Linked DNA regions of Homo sapiens: regions 1 and 2 are each linked to region 3. The links are contacts of gene promoters, found by promoter capture Hi-C in blood cells and fetal thymus (Javierre and others, 2016). All regions are on one chromosome and are shown on one strand. Each heading gives the region's core, a stretch centred on a gene start or on the middle of the fragment in contact. The rest is flanking DNA. Distances are from core to core; before and after follow the strand shown.

Region 1 (2,963 bases), core at 145-2,644, 330 kb after region 3:
TGTGTGTGTGAGAGAGAGAGAGAGAGAGCGAGAGACAGAGACGGACAGACAGACGGATGGACAGACAGAGGGAAAGACTGGAGGAAGAGCCTCAGAAAGCCGGAGCCTCCCCCCTGCTCCCTCCGTCCCCCGCCGGCATCCTCCATCCTCCCCCAATCAATTTCTCTCCCACACACTTATTTCTCCCTTCCCAACAGCTCGTCTCTTTCTTTAATTAGAAAGATTTATGCTTCAGAGTCCAAGCCCCCTGCTCTTGTTTTGGGGGTGGCAGGGACGACTCCAGGGTCTCTATTGGAGCTCCTGTCCCCCACTCCCTCCCCCTCCTGTCTGTCTCACTCTGTCTGCACCTCTCTCTCTCTCTCCTCCCACCCGCGTCTGTCTCTGTCTCTCTCTCTCTCTGAATCACACCGTCACTGGAGTTACCTCCCTCCCCACTCCAGTTAGGCCCCATCCCCATCCCAGGTGCCCCCTCCCTCCCTTCCTGCTCTGTCCACGCCCCCCACCACTGGCCGTCAGATGAGGCCGCACTTGCTCCTCTAGGTTTCAGAATCAGCCTGGGCTAAGGGGACCTTAGCATGCACCACCCCCCAAAAAAGCAAATAGAGCCAGAGACTCCTAACCCTTGCATCCCTCACCCCAAGTCTTGGCTGAGGGTGAGGTGGGGGTGGAGCAGACCAAAGGGCCTTGTGTCTTTAATTAAAAAGTGATTTAAATTAATTTTCTGCTCCAAAACCCCTATCTGGGGTGCGCCGGCCTTGAGGAAAGGCAAGGCCTCCAGACCCTTCCCCTCGGACTGCCTTAAACGGCCAGCCTCACCGCAGGACAGCCACGGGGGCAGAGCCCGCCGGCATGGGGACCCCCAGACTCAGCCAAGACCCTGAGTCCTGGCACCCTCTAGCTTAACTGTTTCTCCGTTATCCACAGCCCACCCCCGCCGCCCCCAGCGCACTGCCCATCCTGCAGAGGGGGAATCGAGCCTCAGAGAGGGGAGAGCCTACGGTGGGACCAGACTCCAGATTCCCACGTGACCCCTGGAGATGGCCAGGGAGGGGGTCCGTGGTGTGTCCAGGGGGCTCGGAGAACAGAGAGCCAGAGGAGAGAAAGGACGGGAGAAGCGGAGACAGAGAGAGACAAGGAGAGAGAGACTGGGAAAGAGGGAGACTGAGAAACCCGGAGCAGGAACCCCAGCCCTGGGTAGGAGAGGAGGGGCCTGGGGGCACCAGGGCCGCGGTCTCTTCCTCTCCTCCCCCCACAGCCTGCCCCTCCCCGACTCCCACCGGAAGTGCTGCTGCTGCCCTAACCCCAATCCCTCGTGCTGTAGCTCTGCAGGCTCACTCTGGCTCATCCCCTATCCCGCTCCTTGGTGGTTCTGTTTAATTTCCACAAGACAAGGGAGAGACCGGGAACGGGGAGCGCGGCTGCCAGCACCCCTGAGCCGCCGCCGGACCCTCCGTCGCCCCGGGCCGCCCCCCGCCCCCTGCGGTCCCCGGTGTGTCCGTCTCGGGACGGTTCGATTCCCTCCAGAGCCGGGGAAGGGACGGGGGGGGCCCAGAGGAGGGGGCCTCGGGCGCCCCGCCTGCGCCTGCTGCCCCCGCCCCGGCGGCGATGCGCTCCTGGCCGTGACCCCCGCTGGGGGCGGGGGCCGGGGTCCATGCGCGGAGTCCCCACCCGGCCCGGCGCCTGCCGCTGACGGCGGCGGGGGTGGGGGGGCGCGCGCCTGGCCTCCTGCCCACCCCCTGGCGTCAACACCGCGGGCCGTCAGGGGCTGCGGCCCCGGGCTGCGCCCTCCCCCGCGGCCAGGCTCTGGAGGGACCCAGGAGCTGCCGCCGGCCTCAGCCCATGGCCCGGAGGGTAGGTCTCGGGGCGGGGACCCCGCGTCCCGGCCGCTTCCGCACCCCCTGTCCCTGCATCCCCCACTCTCCGGCGCTGGCCCCCATTAGCCCATCCGTCCTCTACACCACCTCGCTCTCTCTCTGCCCCTCCCTCCGCCCCTGGGTCTCCCAGTCCCTGTGTGCCCCCTCTCTGCCCCCAAGTGTCTCTTCCTGGCCCTCGGCCTCGCCTCCTCCCCATCGTTTAGCTTCTCCTTCTCCCTGCCCCTCTGTCCCCCTCTGTCTGCCCCACTCTCCTCCTCCTTTCTGCCTCTCTGTCCCCCTCTCTCTGTCCCTGGTCTCCCCCCTCTTTCTGCCTCTCTATCCCCCTCTCTCTGCCCTCCCCCACCCGCAGTCTCTCTCCTCTGTTCCTGGGCTTCCTCCTCCATCTCAGCCGCCCGCACCTCACCGTCCCCCCTTTTTTCTGCTCTCCTCCGTCCTTCCCTTCGCTCTACTTTTGTTCCAAGCCGCCCCTGCCTCTCCAGGGCTAGGAGTGGGACAGGGGTGGGAGAGGTGGTCTCACCAGGCTGCTGGCCCCACGGAGCCTGTCTCCCTGGGGATGGGAACGGGGATAGAAGACAGGGGAGGAGGCGCGCGCCCGTTTTGGGGGTTCCGGGTAGGCTGTGAGGACCGCTTTTGGTGAGAGTGCCTTGAGCAGCGGGGAGCAGTTGGATTCAACTTCAGGGCACAGGAGAAGTTAGGAGAAGAGGGAGAGGGAAAGAGTGGGACACACAGAACCAGGGTGCCCAGCCAGGCGAGGGTCCGAGGCAGGAACGTTCTAGCCTCTTCCCGTGCGAGTCCTGCTGCCTCTTTGAGCCTCCGTGTCTTCATCACTGAGGAAGGGATTTGACCTGATGAGAGGAAGGTGCCCCTGGCTTCCCAGGTGCATGGTTCTGTGACGACAGGACGCGGTCGTCCTACCCCATAATGGTGTTTCTCTTGGGTGCGCAATCGTGTCTGTATGGTGGTGCGGAGTGACCCTCTCCGGCAACAAGTGCTCACAGCATGAGCCAGGCCCTGTGCTAAATGCCTCATTCATTCATTCATCCATGTGCCAAATGTCTCAATCATGCATTCATTCTTGTGCCTGGTGTT
Region 2 (2,934 bases), core at 290-2,789, 270 kb after region 3:
GAACTGCTGTGTTATAAGTACCGGGGCCCAGAGTCGGGGCTTCCTGAGGCCCAGCACGGGTTCCATCTGCTGTGGCAGCGGAGCTTCTCCAGTCCCCTGCTGGCCATGGCTCACGTGGACCTGACCGGGGATGGGCTGCAGGAGCTTGCCGTGGTCTCCCTGAAGGGCGTGCACATCCTGCAGGTATCCCCAGCTCTTGGGGTGGGAGGGGAGTCGACCTCAGCAGTTTCGAGCAGGGGGTGCAGGCCTCCTCCTGGGGGAGGGAGGAACTCATTTCAGGGAGGCAGTTCCTACCAGTCAGGACAACTCCCAGGAGAAAGGGGCAGCTGTGAGCGCTCACAGCAGCTGGGGTGGGGGCACCGGCCTGGTGAAGGAGATTTATTTATTTATTTATTATTTTATTTTTGAGACAGAGTCTTGCTCTGTCACCCAGGCTCTAGCGCAGTGACTCGATCTCAGCTCACTGCAACCTCCACCTCCCAGGTTCAAACAATTCTCATGCCTCAGCCTCTCAAGCAGCTGGGAAATACAGCCGCACGCCACCACGCCCAGCTAATTTTTGTATTTTTAGTAGAGACGGAGTTTCACCATGTTGCCCAGGTTAGTCTCAAACTTCTGGCCTCAAGTCATCCGCCCACCTCGGCCTCCCAAAGTGCTAGGATTACAGGTGTGAGCCACCACACCCTGGCCTTTTTTTTTTTTTTTTTGGTTTTTTTGTTTGTTTGTTTGTTTTCGAGACAGAGTCTTGCTCTGTTTCCCAGGCTGGAGTGCAGTTTCCCAGGCTGGTGTGCAGTGGTGTGATCTCAGTTCACTGCAACCTCCACCTTCCAGGTTCAAGTGATTGTCCTGCCTCAGCCTCCCTAGTAGCTGGGATGACAGGCACCTGCCACCAAGCTTGGCTAAATTTTATATTCCTTTTATATTCCTTCTAATCTCACTTCCTTACATTTGGGTCTAGGCTTTGTCCCTCCCACTAGAAATTCGCTTAAGGCCACTCCCCTTCACCCCTGTCACAGAGGCCCATTCCCATCCCACACACTGTGGTCTGCTCTCTGCCCTCCCACGTGGGCCGAGCTCCTGGCCTTTGGAGTTGCTTCACTCCAGACGGTCCCGCTGTGGTCCCACAGCTCTTCCTCAGCTCCATCCCCCTCATTCTCTTGTTCCCCACAGCACAGCCTGATTCAGGCCTCAGAGCTGGTCTTGACCCGGCTTCGACATCAAGTGGAGCAGAGGAGACGTCGGCTACAGGGGTTGGAGGACGGGGCAGGTGCAGGGCCTGCTGAGAATGCAGCCTCTTAAGCACCCATGCACCCACTCTTCCCAGACCTGGGGCGACTCATGGCGTGCTCACCTCCAGCCGCTGGTGGGGGGTGTCCTGAAGGACAGGATGCTCTCCCCAGACCTCCCCAGGGTGGTGAAGCTGTGCCCTGGGGCCCCAGCTAACCCACTCCTCTCTCTGTACGTCAATGTCCCTATTTGAAAGCAGGGATGATCCCATTCCACCCTGTCCACTCTGGATGAGAATTGGCCACCTGATGGTTATTTATACGTCCAGAAGAACATCATTTCCCAGTTGTCTCGATTCTTTTTTTCGGCAAGCATTTGGTGAGCACCTGCTGTATGCCTGGCTCTGTGTTGGATGCTGGATTCACCCAGAGGAATTGAGGGAGAGGGATTTGGGGGAGAGGGAATCCAAGGCTAGACCCAGATACAGGCCGGAGGTTAGATCCCAGGGTAGAACCCAAGAGAAAGAAATGGGGTGACACCTTAGCAGAAAGGCTAAAAGTTAAACCACTGTGGAACAGATTACGTAAAATGGAAGGGAAAGAGCTGAGGTTAGACCCTAGTGGAGAGAGCTGACATGAGACCCCAGTGGAAAGATCTAGATCTAAGGGTAGATCCCAGTGGAAAGGTAAGGAGCTTGAGCGTTTAGAGGAAAACTTGTGGGTAGAAAGGGCTGCTGTGGGAAAGCAGTGGTCCATTTGTAGCAGAGGGTCTGAGGCTAGACTCCCTATGAATAATGCTGAGGTTGGACCCCAACAAAAAATTGCTATGGCCAGATCCTGTGCAAGGGGCCAGGGTTAAACCCCAGCAGAAAGTGAGCTTAGTTCCCAGTGGAGAGCACTGAGGCAAGACCCAGGGAGAAGACCCAGGCTAGACCATGCTGGAAAGGGCTAAGCTTAGACCTAATCTAAAAAGCCTAGGGGGTTGGGGGCCCAGGGAGTGGGAGACAAGCCTGATTCTCCCAGCCTGTGGTGGTAGGAGTTGCCTTGCCTGTGGTCTTTTGTGTGTGTGTGAGAGACGGAGTCTCATTCTGATGCACTGGTTGGAGTGCAGTGGCGCGATCTCGGCTCACTGCAACCTCCACCTCCTGGTTCAAGCGATTCTCCTGCCTCGGCCTCCTGAGTAGCTGGGATTACAAGCGTACGCCACCACGCCTGGCTAATTTTTTTGTATTTTTAGTAGAGACAGGGTTTCACCGTGTTGGCCAGGCTGGTCTCAAACTCCTGACCTCAGGTGATCTGCCCGCCTCGGCCTCCCAAAGTGCTGGGATGACAGGCGTGAGTCACTGAGCCCGGCCTCCTGTGCTCCGTTCTGTATTACCAGGAGAAGGAATCAGAGGCCTGTGTCTCTAGGATCAGTGGAGGGTGGGAACGATGGAAGTCTTGTCCTCCGTCCACTGCAGGCCAGGAATAGAATCTGGGTCAGCAGGGTTGGGGGATGATCATTCCCTGGGCCGTATCCAGGCTGGGGGCAGGGGTTGGGCAGGACATCTGCTTCCTGGGGGTTCAGGGGAGAGGCAGACACCGTAGTCATTTTGGCCATCTGTCTACCTCCCGCTATGGAGGTCCACTCAGAAGTCTGACCACCAGCACTGACAGGGAAGACCCAGCCACCAGTTCTCTACCGAGCGTTTATGGGAGTTAGGAGCTC
Region 3 (2,993 bases), core at 345-2,844:
GCAGATATTTGCCTTCCAAGCCACATCATTAACACAGATCTCAGAGGCTACCGTAAGCTGACTAACAATGAATAACCGCCATTCCACACCACAAAAGCCTCTCCTCACCTTTTTCCTTGGAGCCAGTGTCCACGAAGAAGAGTTTTTCATTTGGGGCCTCTGACAACAAGCCACTGGGGGACAGAAATGCAGAACATCAGCCAGAGATGTTGGAGAGGAAAGAGATTTAACCTGGCAGGTCCAGCCTTCATCTTCCGCTTAGTCAAGTCCCGCCACCGGACTCTTCCAGGCTAAGGCTTCGCCCAGCAGTTTACAGAACTTAGTATTTAGGAAGGACTGCCAGGCGCAGTGGCTCACGCCTGTAATCCCAGCACTTTGGGAGGCCCAGGCGGGTGGCTCACCTGAGGTCAGGAGTTCAAGAGCAGCCTGGCCAACATGGTGAAACCCTGCCTTTACTAAAAATACAAAAATTAGGCTGGGTGTGGTGGCTCACACCTGTAATCTTAGCACCTTAGGGGGCCGGGGCGGGTGGATCACCTAAGGTCAGGAGTTCAAGACCAGCCTGGCCTGTAACATGGCAAAACCCTGTCTCTACTAAAAATACAAAAATTAGCCGGACGTGGTGGTGCATGCCTGTAATCCCAGCTACTTGGGAGGCTGAAGCAGGAGAATCACTTGAACCCAGGAGGCAGAGGTTGCAGTGAGCCGAGATCGTGCCATTGCACTCCAGCCTGGACTACAGAGAAAGACTCCGTCTCAAAAAAAAAAGAAAAAAGAAAAGAAAAGAAAAATAGCCGAGCGTGGTGGCGCCCGCCTGTAATCCCAGCTACTAAGGAGCTGAGGCAGGAGAATCGCTTGAGCCTGGGAGGCGGAGGTTGCGGTGAGCTGAGATCGCGCCTACTCCAGCCTGGGCGATAGAGCGAGACTCCGTCTGAAAAACATATATATATACATATATATACACACACACATATACACATATATATATACACACATATACACATATATATACACACACATATATACATACACACACACACATATTTAGAAAACAGCAAGCTAAGGTGGATGCATGGAACGTATTTATGCTAAAAATTATTCATTGTTTACCTAAAATCCAAATTTAATTGAGCGTCCTGTATATTTATCTGCTAAATCTGGTAACTCTATCAAGCTCTCCAGCTTCCCATGCTGAGTCCCCTGCCCATGCTCTCCATTTCCTCGGCGGTCCCCGGGACAGGAGCCCCCAACCCCCGACCCCCGACCCCCGACCCCCGACGAGTCCACGCAAGCACGCCTGGCCTTGCACCTGGGCGCAGGAACCGTCCCACCTCCCGGAAGTCCCGCCCAACGTACCCGCTCGTGCGCTCCTGTAGCCGCACGTCTTCCAGGAACTGGTCAACCTCCAGCCCCAGCGGCTCCTGAGCAAGCCGCCGCCAGCCCCGCTTCTTATTTCTTGGGCCTCGCCGCCGCCGCCTCAGCGCTGGGTCCACCGAAGTGGGCCGCAGCCCCAGGAAACCAGAATCGGCATCGCTTTTCGAGCTGCGCTTCCCACCAACGCCACTGCCTCCTGCCGCCATCTTGTCAAAGGAAGAACTCAGCCACTGGCGTCCCAAAAAGCCCCTTTGCAGCGTGCGCGCGCAGATTTCCCACCCTCTTCCGTGACGTACTTCCTGTGGCAGCCATATTTATAAAGTGACTGGAGTTGCCAGGAGGCTGCCATCTTGGTAAAGGATAAATGGCTCCTCCTTCCTCCATTCTTTACAGCGGGATCTGAAGATTCCTAACGGCGGCGGGTGGTAGGAAAGAGACGGGAAGGTTGCAGGTTCTTAGCTTTCGCCCTTAAGCGAACACCTTTCCCGGCCGCCTGGGGTCTTTGCTCAAACTGATTTTTTTCTTTAATAGATAAGGTCTCACTTTGTTGCCCCCAGGCTGGAGTGCAGTGGAAGGGTAATGGCTCACTGCAGCCTCCAACTCCTAAGCTCAGGGATTCTCCTACCTCAGCCTCCCGAGTAGCTGCGACCACAGAAGGGTGCATCCGCACCTGGCTAATTTTTTATTTTTATTTTTTGTAGAAATGGAGCCTCCCCATGTTGCCCAGGCTGGTCTCAAACATCTGGTTTCAAGTGATCCTCCTTCCTAGGCCTCCCAAAGCGCTGGGATTACAGGCTCACACCACCACTCCCGGTCCAAACTGATGTGTGTGTGTTTTTTTTTAAGAGACAAAGGTCTCACTATGTTGTCCAGGCTGGTCTTGAACCCCTGGGCTCAAGTGATTCTCCCTCCTCAGCCTCCGAAAATGCTAGGATTACAGATGTGAGCCACCATGCTCGGCCTGATTATTTTTTAATCTCGTTTTCTTAGAAAGTCAGAACCGTCAGTGGCAGATTCCGCACAACACACATTCCAATCTCAGAAGTTTTGTCCTCTCAAATGTTCCAATCCTAGGATCTTAGAAATCAAGTAACTTTCGGAATATCAAAGTTGGAAGCACAGAACATTAGAGGAATGTTAGAAACATACACTTTTAGGACCCTAGAAGTGCAGACTCAGAATCATTCATCTTGAGCGGGCTACTTCACTGTGCCTCAGTTTCCTCATCTGTAAAATAAAGATGATAACAGTACATCTGCGTCATAAGTCATGCAGAAGATTAAACATATGTAAAGCGCTTAAGGCTGCGTCTGGCATCTGAGTGTTAGCTATTGTTACTGCCTTGCCCTCTGAGGCTTCATCTTAGAATCAACTCATCTTTGTCATTTACAAATAAGGAAGGAAGCTCAGAGGCTCTTGGGCCCTGGCAGCCATTCAAAGGGATCCATGGCAGGGCGTGGTGATTCACGCCTCTAATCCCAGCACTTTGGGAGGCCGATGCAGGAGGATCGCTTGAGCCCAGGAATTCAAGACCAGCCTGGGCAACATAGTGAGATCCTGTGTCTGCCAAAAATTTAAAAATTAGCCAGGCGTGATGGTGTGCGCCTGTAGTCCCAGGT

What was found. The method cuts DNA at HindIII sites, captures the fragments that hold promoters and counts their contacts. A CHiCAGO score of 5 or more calls a contact.
Region 1: a contact is called between the fragment with the promoter of MEIS3 here and the fragment with the promoter of NOP53 in region 3, in 2 of 17 cell types (M0 macrophages and activated CD4 T cells). The highest score is 5.4, in M0 macrophages.
Region 2: a contact is called between a fragment that was not itself captured here and the fragment with the promoter of NOP53 in region 3, in 5 of 17 cell types (M1 macrophages, endothelial precursors, naive CD4 T cells and 2 more). The highest score is 5.5, in M1 macrophages.

The regions. Positions count from the first base shown.
Region 1 is chr19:47,417,958-47,420,920 of GRCh38, reverse strand. MEIS3 (Meis homeobox 3) reads left to right here and starts at 1,394. Exons shown (of 13, transcript NM_001301059.2): 1 at 1,394-1,851. The coding sequence starts at 1,840. RefSeq lists enhancers at 1,314-2,307, 2,308-2,963. The HindIII fragment of the contact is 31,601 bases long and covers 1-2,963 here.
Region 2 is chr19:47,473,781-47,476,714 of GRCh38, reverse strand. KPTN (kaptin, actin binding protein) reads left to right here. Exons shown (of 12, transcript NM_007059.4): 11 at 1-183; 12 at 1,171-1,565. The coding sequence ends at 1,299. Among named protein-coding and RNA genes, the nearest start is that of SLC8A2, 3.4 kb to the right of the region's middle. The HindIII fragment of the contact is 1,285 bases long and covers 897-2,181 here.
Region 3 is chr19:47,744,147-47,747,139 of GRCh38, reverse strand. NOP53 (NOP53 ribosome biogenesis factor) reads right to left here and starts at 1,594. Exons shown (of 13, transcript NM_015710.5): 1 at 1,357-1,594; 2 at 109-173. The coding sequence starts at 1,580. RefSeq lists enhancers at 401-901, 1,322-1,711. The HindIII fragment of the contact is 20,370 bases long and covers 1-2,993 here.